Linked DNA regions of Homo sapiens: regions 2, 3 and 4 are each linked to region 1. Evidence: promoter capture Hi-C in human tissues and cell types (Jung and others, 2019). All regions are on one chromosome and are shown on one strand. Each heading gives the region's core, a stretch centred on a gene start or on the middle of the fragment in contact. The rest is flanking DNA. Distances are from core to core; before and after follow the strand shown. Region 1 holds the start of DZANK1 (double zinc ribbon and ankyrin repeat domains 1). Region 2 has its middle 6.1 kb from the start of SCP2D1-AS1. Region 3 overlaps SNX5 (sorting nexin 5). Region 4 has its middle 5.6 kb from the start of OVOL2.

What was found. The method cuts DNA at HindIII sites, captures the fragments that hold promoters and counts their contacts. A contact is called where the count stands out against the background at its distance.
Region 2: a contact is called between a fragment that was not itself captured here and the fragment with the promoter of DZANK1 in region 1, in 2 of the 25 tissues and cell types used here (ovary and spleen).
Region 3: a contact is called between a fragment that was not itself captured here and the fragment with the promoter of DZANK1 in region 1, in 1 of the 25 tissues and cell types used here (dorsolateral prefrontal cortex).
Region 4: a contact is called between a fragment that was not itself captured here and the fragment with the promoter of DZANK1 in region 1, in 1 of the 25 tissues and cell types used here (mesenchymal stem cells).

What each region holds. Positions count from the first base shown.
Region 1 is chr20:18,465,459-18,468,279 of GRCh38, reverse strand. DZANK1 (double zinc ribbon and ankyrin repeat domains 1) reads left to right here and starts at 1,250. Exons shown (of 21, transcript NM_001367614.1): 1 at 1,250-1,284. POLR3F (RNA polymerase III subunit F) reads right to left here and starts at 890. Exons shown (of 9, transcript NM_006466.4): 1 at 712-890. The coding sequence starts at 773. RefSeq lists enhancers at 810-1,129, 752-1,370. The HindIII fragment of the contact is 23,548 bases long and covers 1-2,821 here.
Region 2 is chr20:18,834,979-18,837,678 of GRCh38, reverse strand. No RefSeq gene overlaps it. Among named protein-coding and RNA genes, the nearest start is that of SCP2D1-AS1, 6.1 kb to the right of the region's middle. The HindIII fragment of the contact is 6,459 bases long and covers 1-2,700 here.
Region 3 is chr20:17,959,889-17,962,632 of GRCh38, reverse strand. The region is part of intron 1 of SNX5 (sorting nexin 5); the gene reads left to right. Among named protein-coding and RNA genes, the nearest start is that of SNORD17, 1.7 kb to the left of the region's middle. RefSeq lists an enhancer at 1,202-1,371. The HindIII fragment of the contact is 8,206 bases long and covers 1-2,744 here.
Region 4 is chr20:18,062,172-18,064,903 of GRCh38, reverse strand. No RefSeq gene overlaps it. Among named protein-coding and RNA genes, the nearest start is that of OVOL2, 5.6 kb to the right of the region's middle. The HindIII fragment of the contact is 6,139 bases long and covers 1-2,732 here.

The DNA of each region.
Region 1 (2,821 bases), core at 1-2,500:
CATGGTGAAACCCCGTCTCTACTAAAACATAAAAAATTAGCTGGGCGTGGTGGCGCGAGCCTGTAGTCCCAGCTACTCGGGAGGCTAAGGCAGGGGAATCGCTTGAACCCGGGAGGCGGAGATTGCAGTGAACCGAGATCGCGCCACTGCACTCCAGCCTGGCGACAGAGCGAGACTCTGTCTCACAAACAAACAAATAAAAATAAAAGTGGCAGAGGCTTTGGGTGTCCTAAAAGTCTTGAGTTCAATACTGCACTGAAACCACCTGGCTTAATGTTACTTCGTAATCACCAACTGCGCCCTAACTCCGCCTAAACGTTTTGTCATAGACGTTCCCTTAGTGACAAGAGCGATCCTGGATCAGAACATGTATTCACAAGTGTTCTACAGGGAAAGAAAGCCGAGGGCTCCTCTCAAAGCACTGATCGCGTCAAAGTAGGAAGGCAGCACGTCATCACAACTTCCCCAAAAGTATCAGGGCAAAGCCAGCCAGCTACACAAAGTTGCAAGCTGTCAAACCCATTTTGAACTTCTTGAGTTCTGCTCTCCCAGGATGGGAAGGAACAAGTGGGTCCAGAACCCCGCAATCGTTTTTCCCGCGTGCTCACCTAACCCGCTCCGGCCACTCCCAAGGGATCCCGGAGAAGGGGTCCAGCTGCCCAAATGACTGGGCGCCTGATGGAGTGCCAAGCCGGAGCCTCACTGGTTTACCTGTTTTCTATTTCGACCGGATCCGCGTCAGGCGGCTGCACCTTCACCTTCACCTCCGCCATGAGGGCGCAGTTCCTGACGCCTGGGGGGAAAGATGCACGGAGCAGCCCGGTAGCAAGCCGGGGAACCCGGGGAACCAGTGGAGGATAGCGCTCTGCTGAGGCCGAGGGGCCTTCTTCCTCGTGTCGCAGCCGGTCCTTCCTTGCCTTTCGGCGGGAGGTGGCCAAGCTGCGCCTGCTCCGGCCCACTTACAGGCGCCGCTACAGCTTCTTATTCTTGTTTTCCAGAATGTCAATGCCCATCGGACGCACAAGCCTGGTTCCTTCATTCTGAGTTGGGAAACCAACTTTTAGCACTTGGCAACTCTGTGAAGGAATATTCTTAGATGCCTATGGGAAAGCACTGGGAAAGGAACTCCAGGCGGGTACCAGGCTCCCTGCGGAGCGGCAGGGGCCGGTCTAGTTGCTAAGAAGCTGAGTCTCCACCAATCATCTGCCCAGCACCCAGTGGGCGGGGCGCGGCTCGCCGCGTCTGTGGTAACCCGGGCGGCGGCGAAGGAGGAGGCAAGAGGCGGTGAGAGGCTGGCGACTGGGTTGGGCGCGGCAGAGATGCATTAGGGGTCCCGATCCCGGGCCCCGCGGTTAGAGGAAGAGGAGGGCGGCTAGAGGAGGGGAAGAGCTTCCCTTACTCCAGCCGAAAGGATGCAGGTGTCCTTGGCAGCCCCTGATGGGCGGGAACAACCAAACGGGATTCCGGATCCGGGCTGCGAGGGGGCGGTCCACGTTGGGAGAGTTGAGGGGTCTGGGGATCCTGTTGACTGCACGTTGCCATTTGGGCCTGGCGGATCCGCCTTTTTTCTTGATTCCCTTTGCGTGGGGCCCACTGGCCACCCCAGCTTCCTAAGGGCAGCTGCTAGTTGACGCTCGCGAATTACTTCCTCTCCTACATATTTTTTATTTAGAATTTTTCAACTACTTTTATTTTATCTGCCTTTCACTTAAATGGAAATGCGACTATGGGCAAGTCTCAAGTCCAGCCACACTCCCGTAGGAGCTATTGTTGTGCTGTCAGTATCTGTAGTTTATATTCTTGGCCCTAGATCCGGAACTATCCAACAAGGCATTAAGTTCACCCCTTAAATTTAGGTACCCCATTTTTGAGAATACAGTCTGTGACAAAGCTCAAACTGCAGACATGTTCAGATCAGCATTATTAGAACTGCAACAGGCAAAACTAAAAAGAAACTAGAAATAGCCTAAATGCCCAGCCACAAATGGATAAATAAGTACAGGGAAAACTAAATAATACAGTGAGAATGCAAGAAGTAGACTATAAAAATGGAATGAATATGTAGATTATAATTGGGCAAAATCTATGGATTATTAATGAAATTTGAAAAGGCAATACAGAGATGTAAATGGTTGTTGTGTTAAGGTGAGCGTTTTTTCCCCCTGAAACCTTCTGTGCATTAATTATGACAACCTTCCTCCCCACCCTCACCTCCAAAAAGACCAGTAAGGCTTTCATACTGGTAGTTAATTATTAATACCAGGATTTATAAATACAGTAGATGAAACGGGAGGCTTGTGTTTATTGGTCACTGTTTATATTCTTGCAAACTTCCTTTCCACTGAGAAGTAGTACTCTGCAGTCCTTCTAAAGTGTCTTTGCAGCTTTCAAATACTAGAACTGCTCTGGTGATAATGGCAAGGCTGTGAACCCGGAGCTTTCCCAAAAAAGTTAGCTCTAACTAACATTTTGTGGTACACACAGAATTACTTCTGTTCCCCTTGTATGATGACTTGCCCTGAAGCCAAGAGAGCTGACACACACCAGAGGCAGGAAAAGGCGATAATGATTTACAGGGAACTCAAGTCAGAGCGTTAGTGATAGTCTCTGTTTTGCCTTACTCATTTAATTTGTCCTTTTAAAGTAACTTCTTTCTTTTCCCCATCTCATTCATTCATGCTCCTTTCGCAGAAGTGAGGTATTTAGATAATCAAAACCCCACACAAGACCTCAACAGCAAATACAGATGAAATGTAATTATTATTTCAATTAAAAAGGGAATAATATTTGTAGTGCCATGTTAACAGTATTCTCTCGTTTT
Region 2 (2,700 bases), core at 76-2,575, 370 kb before region 1:
TGCAAAAGGGCAGGGGTAATAAGGTGTGTATGACCTCCCATCCTGTCATGGCCAGCAACTCAGTTTTTTAGGTTTCTCTGGGGTCCCCTTAGCCAAGAGGGAGTCCATTCAGTCAGCTGCAGGGCTTAGGATTTTATTTTTAGTCGTCAGAATTCATTAACATACCTAGGTCTGAGCTGGAATCCAGTGAGTGCTAGAGCATTGAGGGGTCAAGTGGTGGGTGGAGGGCAGGGACCAGACAGAGCTATAGTCGTGGAAAGACACAGCCACTTCCAACTATTTTCACAGTTGGAAACTGAAACCATGGATAAGGAGAACTACCATATTGAGTGTTGTGTGCCCAGACCTATTTAAGTTTTTGCCTACCTAACCATATTAAGCTTTCACAACAACTCTATGTAATGGATGCTATCACTATTTCCCTTTCACAGATGAGAAACTGAGGCTCAGAGAGGTTAGGCAACTCACCCATGGTCATAAAGCTGGTGAATGGCAGAGCCAGGATTTGAACCCATGCAGTACATAAACTCCTGCCCAAAAGGCTTTACTGCCTATGGCAAAGCGTGGTCCCAGCAGATTTCCTGGGACACTGCAGGATTCTAAAGTGTCTCACATGTCACTCTGTTTGCTTCAATTACATTTACCTGATGATAATCTGTTTTGAAAACTGGTCATTGATGTGTGCTAAAAACAAAAAAAAATAGCCAGATTATTGTCCAGATTTTTATCAGACAAGGTTTGTTATTTACAATCTAGATTACTACCTGTGTAGAATTTTAACATTCACTACATTTCTTAAGCACTTACCCTCTGGGTGCTGAGATAAAGACTGTGTAAGTATCATCTCTACAAATCTTCATAATAACATAAGGAGGTACATATAGATCATCACCATCGCCATCATTAACATCATCCCATTTTATAGAAGAAGCTCACAAGAACCCTTCAAGTGCATTATTTTGTGCTCTGTAGCCAAAGTACATGGGAGCAGCCCACGGAGGCCCTCTGAGGCCTTAACCAATCTCTATCAGCTGTAGCTTTCTCCCCTCTTCCACATCTTCCTGCCATCCTGGCGGCTGCTGTCTCATTGCTTCTCTCTTCTCAATCTTTCTCTCTCTCTCACTTCCCTGTCCTGCTCTCTCCCTTGTCCACATCACGGACCACTCAGCTGCTTCCCAGACATTGTTAGCCCTAAGGGTGATATCTAAGATCTCATTTCCAAAGGAACAGTTCCTACCAGGAGCACCCCAAACGTTCCTCAACACCAGCGACAGGTACAAGAAATGTTTCCTTTTGGGAAATATCCATCCTGAACATCTGATAAATTCAGACATAGGGACATGGAGAAGCTATAATACTTATTTCAAACCATTAACAGAATCAGGAATCACATTTAAGTTATCTTTACTTATCTAAGCTGACAGAGGCAAAAATCAGCATGTACAATCCAAATACACAGGCAAAAGGAGAGAGATTGTGGCTGGGCATGATATTCAAATGCTGTGTTGTGGCCATTCTTACAAGCACATTTTGTTCATATGTCATCATCCTGAAATCAAGGCTATTATTAATGGTGTCTTCATAATTGCTGTTGGATGGGCAGCAACAGCACTACAGTTATCTTTGCCATCATCTCAGTCATGGTGCATTACGTCATCGCTTCAGTTGTGGGTTGCAGGTTCTGTGGCTGTTGGGTTTAATTTCCATTGAAAATACAAACCAAGGCATATAAAAGGGCAATTTAGCCTTGTCCCTTTACTCCATCAGGGTCTTTCCAGACTAATCTGATTTAGAGGGTAAAGCCTGTGGTGTGTGGCTCACGAATGTTCTTAATCATGGAACACCTACTGGAAACTTCCTTGGACTGTGGCAATGATTGTTTCCAAAGACAAGGCCAAAATTTGACTTTGTGTGTGTTTTCACAAATTTGTTAAAGGGAAGTCAGAAACAGGAATATAAGAAAGGGCTACTCCACAGTTGTGTAACACCAGGAGGCTCCCAGTCTACAAATTGTTGCTGTTAAAGATCACATTCTTTGCAAGCCTACTTGGCCATGGGGTTACAGAGTGAATAAATCCAATGCTGACCTAGTGTCTTTTCTAGAGATGACTAGGGCACCTCTGATCTGACCTCCCTCCCTCACAGGATCAAACCTCAGAGCATCACTCCATAAACAAGCCTATGACATGGCTTTTAACATTTTGTTCAAAAAAGAATACTAGCAAACTTTTTGACAGTAACTACTGAAGTGGACCACAGATGGACTCTAAGGCACAGCAGTTCCAATTCTAGGTACATGCCCAATAGAAACATGTACTTACATTTACCAGAAGACATGTACTAGAATCTTTGACTTTTATTAATAGCCCCAACTAGAAATAAATGATGTCTGTCAGTAGCACAATGAATACATAAATTGTATTTTATTCATATAACCACATACTATAAAGCAAAAAGAATAAACAGTCTATGACTACATGCAACAACATGGAGACTCTCACAGACATAATGTGGAATGTCAGGAAAGTATACCTACTGGATGACACTATTTGTATAAAGTATACTCTAACTATCTCTTGCTGTGCAACAAATGACCTGAAAAGTTAGTGGCTTTAAACAGCAGCAACATTTTTTTATAAGTCTGCATTTGGGCAAGGCTTGGTAGATGACAACTCATCTCTACTCCACTCTGAGGTACGT
Region 3 (2,744 bases), core at 80-2,579, 510 kb after region 1:
GATCTTCTGTTAGAAGTCTTTAGTTCTGTTTTCCTTGGGGGACTAAGAAATTATATTGCAGGCCTGAATTACAGGAAGGGGAGAACCAATGGCTAGGGAATGAGAGCCAATACCTGTAAAAGCAGAGTTGGGCTGGGCGCGGTGGCTCACGCCTATAATCCCAGGACTTTGGGAGGCTGAGGCGGGCAGATCACGAGGTCAGGAGTTAGAGACCAGCCTGACCAACATGGTGAAACCCTGTCTCTACTAAAAATACAAAAATTAGCTGGGTGGGGTGGTGGGCGCCTGTAATCCCAGCTACTCAGGAGGCTGAGGCAGGAGTATCTGGGAGAATTGAACCCCGGGGGTGGAGGTCGCGGTGAGCTGAGACTGTGCCACTGCACTCCAGCCTGGGCAACAGAGTGAGACTCCGTCTCAAAAAAAAAAAAAAAAAAGCAGAGTTAATATATTGCTTATAGTTAGTTGAACCAGTTGTTTCTCACACACCAGTGCCATAATCTAAAGCTGAGATTGAACACAGATAGGTACGTATTAGTTATCTTCAGGATGGCAGAGAATAGTAACAATTCGGAGCACCAATGGGAACATTGTTTCCTGAGAGTTCAAACAGTAACAAAGTAGCATGTGTTTCCTAAATATGTATCATGTGAATCTTTAATATTTGTGGACATTAATACAAATCTAGAGTGTGACAGAACATCTTTGAATTTTATATTCTCACTTAACAAATATTGGACTAGGCAAGGTGTGGATATCTTTCCAGCTGAAAATCTGATCAAGGAGGCAGGCTTCTTGGCTCCATGCTAAGAATCATCGATGATTTGTCATATTGGCCCTCTTGCTGGCAAAATCTTAGTTTCTTAGGCAGTGGAATGAAACATAACAAAACAAAATCCCTAGAGGCTAGGAACAGATAGTTTGAAAGAGAAGACACTGTAGCATGTGCTGCTTAAGTACATATCTTCTGCTTTTGGAATGGAAACTAGGAAGTCATTTAAATAGATATGTGTCTTTTTTATCCTATCTGTAGTAATTTATGTGGGATATTCAAATAGGAAAATACAGGCTAGCACTGCATATTGTATCCATGTCTTACATTGTATACAAATGACTATTAGATTTAAATGACTGTTCAACTAGCCCCAATCTAACAGATCAGAGATTGTGGAGTTTCACTTCTTTGGACTGTGTCTTTTTCATTTTGGCACTGAGTCTGCAGTCACCATAACCACTTAGAAAAAACTGTATTTTTTCTGTTCTCCTGGTGGGTTCTGAGTTTTAGAATCTTGCCTTTTGTGTTGTTCAGTCATCCAGGTGCCCTTTGCCCTCTGTAAGCCATTAAACCTTTTGAAGAGGCAGCTTTGCTGGTAGAGTCGTAAGTGAAATTTGGACCAAAAGTGAGTTTATGAAGACTGGTGGGCAGGAGCTCAACAGCTGCAGGGTTGTCCTGCAGCCAGTGTCTGATGTGCCCCAGCTGGGAAGCTGATGAATAGGTGAGGAAATGCACAGGGATTCCGTAACTACTTTTCTCCTTTTAGGGAAGTGCCTTGGCTCTCTTACCAAAAGCACTGCGATTTTTTAAAACAGTTGAAAATGTGCTTTCCAAATGAAGCCGTGCTTGTTTACCGTGAAGGCTGATTATAATCCGTATTGTAAGGATTGACCTGGTAGGGAAGTACATCATGAACTGAAACTTTACCTAAAACTTTGGATACGTGATCCAGTAGTTTCAAGGGAAATCTACAAAAGTCAGGTTTTTAAAAATTTTTTAAAAATTCTGAAATAGAGATGAGGTCTCACCGTTTTGCTCAGGCTGGGTTGTTGGGTTTGTTTTTTATGTGTAGTTTTTTTTTTTTTTTTTGGAGACTCGCTCTGTTGCCCAGGCTGAAGTGCAGTGGTGCGATCTTGGCTCACTGCAACCTCCTCCTCCCGAGTTCAAGCAGTTCTTCTGCCTCAGCCTCCTGAGTAGCTGGGATTACAGGCGCACGCCACCATGCCAGGCTAATTTGTGTGTGTTTTTTTGTTTGTTTGTTTTTTTAAGACGGAGTTTCGCTCTCATCGCCCAGGCTGGAGTGCAGTCGCGTGATGTCGGCTCACTGCAACCTCTGCCTCCTGGGTTCAAGCGATTCTCCTACCTCAGCCTCCTGAGTAGCTGGGATTACAGATGTGCGCCACCATGCCCAGCTAATTTTTGTATTTTTGGTAGAGACGGGGTTTCACCGTGTTGGCCAAGATGTTCTCGATCTCCTGACCTTGTGATCTAGCTGCCTCCACCTCCCAAAGTGCTGGGATTACAGGCGTGAGCCACCGTGCCTGGCCACTTTTTGTATTTTTAGTAGAGACGGGGTTTCACCATGTTGGTCAGGCTGGTCTCGATCTCCTGACCTCAAGTGATCTGCCTACCTTGGCATCCCAAATTGCTGGGATTGCAGGCGTGAGCCACCACACCCAGCCAGAAGTCAGTTTTAAAACTTAAATTATTTGAGAGTAGGTATATTTTCAATTTGATTCTTACAAGTGACCTAAGGGATCTGGAAAAGAGGTAAAACTTTGCATGGTAAAGGTCCGGCATGCCCAAGGCTGGACTTGGTTCTAAAGCCTGCTTTGTTAACTGTTGTAAACGGCCACTGTAAGCATTGTAACATCTGTGGCCTAAGTCAGAGACTCAAGTGTTGGCCAGCAGGGCTAAGGAGTACTCTGAGCCCTTCAAGCTTAAGGGGGGATGGAGGCAGAGGCAAGTGAGA
Region 4 (2,732 bases), core at 188-2,687, 400 kb after region 1:
CTCACTGCAGCCTCCGCCTCCTGGGTTCAAGCAATTCTCTTGCCTCAGCCTTCTGAGTAGCTGGGACTACTGGCGCGTGCCACCACACCCAGCTAACTTTTTGTATTTTTAGTAGAGACGGGGGTTTCACCATGTTGGCCAGGATGGTCTCGATCTCCTGACCTCATGATCTGCCCGCCTTGGCCTCCCAAAGTGCTGGGATTACAGGCATGAGCCACCGTGCCCAGCCTCAACCTTTTTCTTTTCTTTTTTAAGTTCACAGTTCTTCAAGGTGGAAACCCTTTTTCTTTTGTGGTTTATTTTTTGGGTCTTATTTAAGAAATTCTTTCTTATCCTGTGGTCATAAACATATTCCTCTACATTGTCTATATACATATACATGTATATGTATTCACACACATCTAAATGTTTAATCCACCAGAAACTGATATGTGTGTTATTCAGTTTCCTTTATTTTTCCCAAACGGATAAGCACTTGTTCCAATTCCATGTATTGAATATGACATCTTTCCCTGCTGCACTGCATACCCTCTCTCATAAATCAATGCACACATATGTGTGGGGCTGTTTCCAGGCTCTCTCTCAGGTACCAGTGGTCCCTCTGTGAATGAAAGCCACATCATTTTAATTACTATTGATATCTGATTGATCAAGCCTACACACCTTGTCCTTCAGGAGTGTTTCGACTCTTCTTTCACATAAATTTTGAAAGAAATTTATCATGTCCCACAAAAAGACTGTCAAGTATTTTTAAAAATTGTATTATATCTATAGATGAATTTGGAGATTTTTGGCCTCTTTGATTCTGAATCTTCCAATCCATTAATATAGTAAAACTTTCCATTGATTAGTGTCTTCTTTAATGTCTTCCAATAAAGTTTTTTGTTGTTGTTGTTTGTTTGTTTTTTAGACAGGGTCTTCTTTTTTGTGGCCCAGGCTGGAGTGCAGTGGTGCCATATAGGATCACTGCAACCGCCACGTCCCGGGCTCAGGTGATCCTCCCACCTCAGCCTCCCGAGTCTCTGGGACTACAGGTGCACACCGCCATGCCCGGCTACCAATAAAGTTTTCTAATTTTATATACAAAGAGCTTGCACAATATTTTCAAAAAATCAATTGCAAGGGACTTTGTATTTTTGTTGTGTTTTAAATCATTTTTCATTAGACTTTTTATTTTTCTGACAGTTGCTGGCATGTAGAAATTTAATTGACACTGAAACCTTACACACTCAGATTCTTTTTTTTTTTCTGAGACCGAGTCTCGCTCTATCGCCAGACTGGAGTGCAGTGGTGCGATCTCGGCTCACTGCAACCTCCACCTCCTGGGTTCGAGTGATTCTCCTGCCTCAGCCTCCCGAGTAGCTGGGACTACAGGCATGCGCCACCATGCCCAGCTAATTTTTGTATTTTTTAGTAGAGACGGGGTTTCACCGTGTTGGCCTGGATGGTCTCAATCTCTTGACCTTGTGATTGCCCACCTTGGCCTCCCAAAGTGCTGGAATTACAGGCATGAGCCACTGTGCCCAGCCCACACTCAGATTTTCTACACTGCAATCTTGCTAAAGTCTCTTATTAATTCTAATAATTTATCTATAGATTCTTTTGGGTTTTCCGTAGACAGTGATGCTGACTACAAACAATAGTAGTTTTGTTGTTTTCCCTTATAATCCTTATACTCTTATTTCTTCTTTTTTGCCTTGCTGTACCTGCAAGGAAGCAATCTAATGTGAGTGGGGTGGTGAGAGCAGGCACCCTTGGCTTGTACTTGGGTGCTTTTTCCACTAGTGAGTTCAGTGGGTAAAAATATATCATTTTCCTAATACTGTACTATACTTCAATTAAAAGTTTAGGTGGGAGGCGCGGTGGCTCACGCTTGTAATCCCAGCACTTTGGGAGGCCGAGGTGGGCGGATCATCTAAGGTAGGGAGTTCAAGATCAGCCTGACCAACATGGAGAAACCCCGTCTTTACTAAAAATACAAAAAATTAGCCGGGCATGGTGGTGCATGCCTGTAATTCCAGCTACTCGGGAGGCTGAGGCAGGAGAATCGCTTGAAATTGGGTGGCGGAGGTTGCAGTGAGCCGAGATCGTGCCATTGTACTCCAGCCTGGGGAACAAGAGCGAAACTCTGTCTAAAAAAAAAAAAAGTTTAAATAAAGTTTCCTTAGGAATATTTTCTCAACAACATCTTACCCTCTCCTTATTGCTGTGTGCTCCAGGGATGCCACTGAGCAGGTTTGTACCTGCCTCCTTTCAACCTGAATATATATTACTGGAGAAAAGAAGTCTTAAGTGAGGGTGCAGATGGCTGCTTTCAAGAATTTGAAGAGCTACCAGGGGGAGGGAGTACAGGGGGAGTCTCAGCAGCCCTGGATGACAGAATAAAAGGGGAGATGGAAGGGCAGGAAAGCAGATTTCCACAAGCAGAAAGAAAAGCTTTCTAGCATCATTGTTGTCTAACCAGAGAATAGGTTGCTTTTTGAGACAGTGAGCTTCCCAACACTAGAAGTATTCAAGCAGGGCTAGATACATACCTACCAAGGATGCTGTACAGACCCCTCACCCCCAATATTGGGCGGGGTATGGACCACATTATGTCTCCTGTCTCTTCCAACTTCAGTCTTGAGATTTGTAAAGAATTGGATTCATTTCTTCTTTTTTTAAAATTGAAATTGTTTTTATTAACATCTTGTGTGTGTTTTTAAGTTCTGAGTATTCAACTTTGACTATGA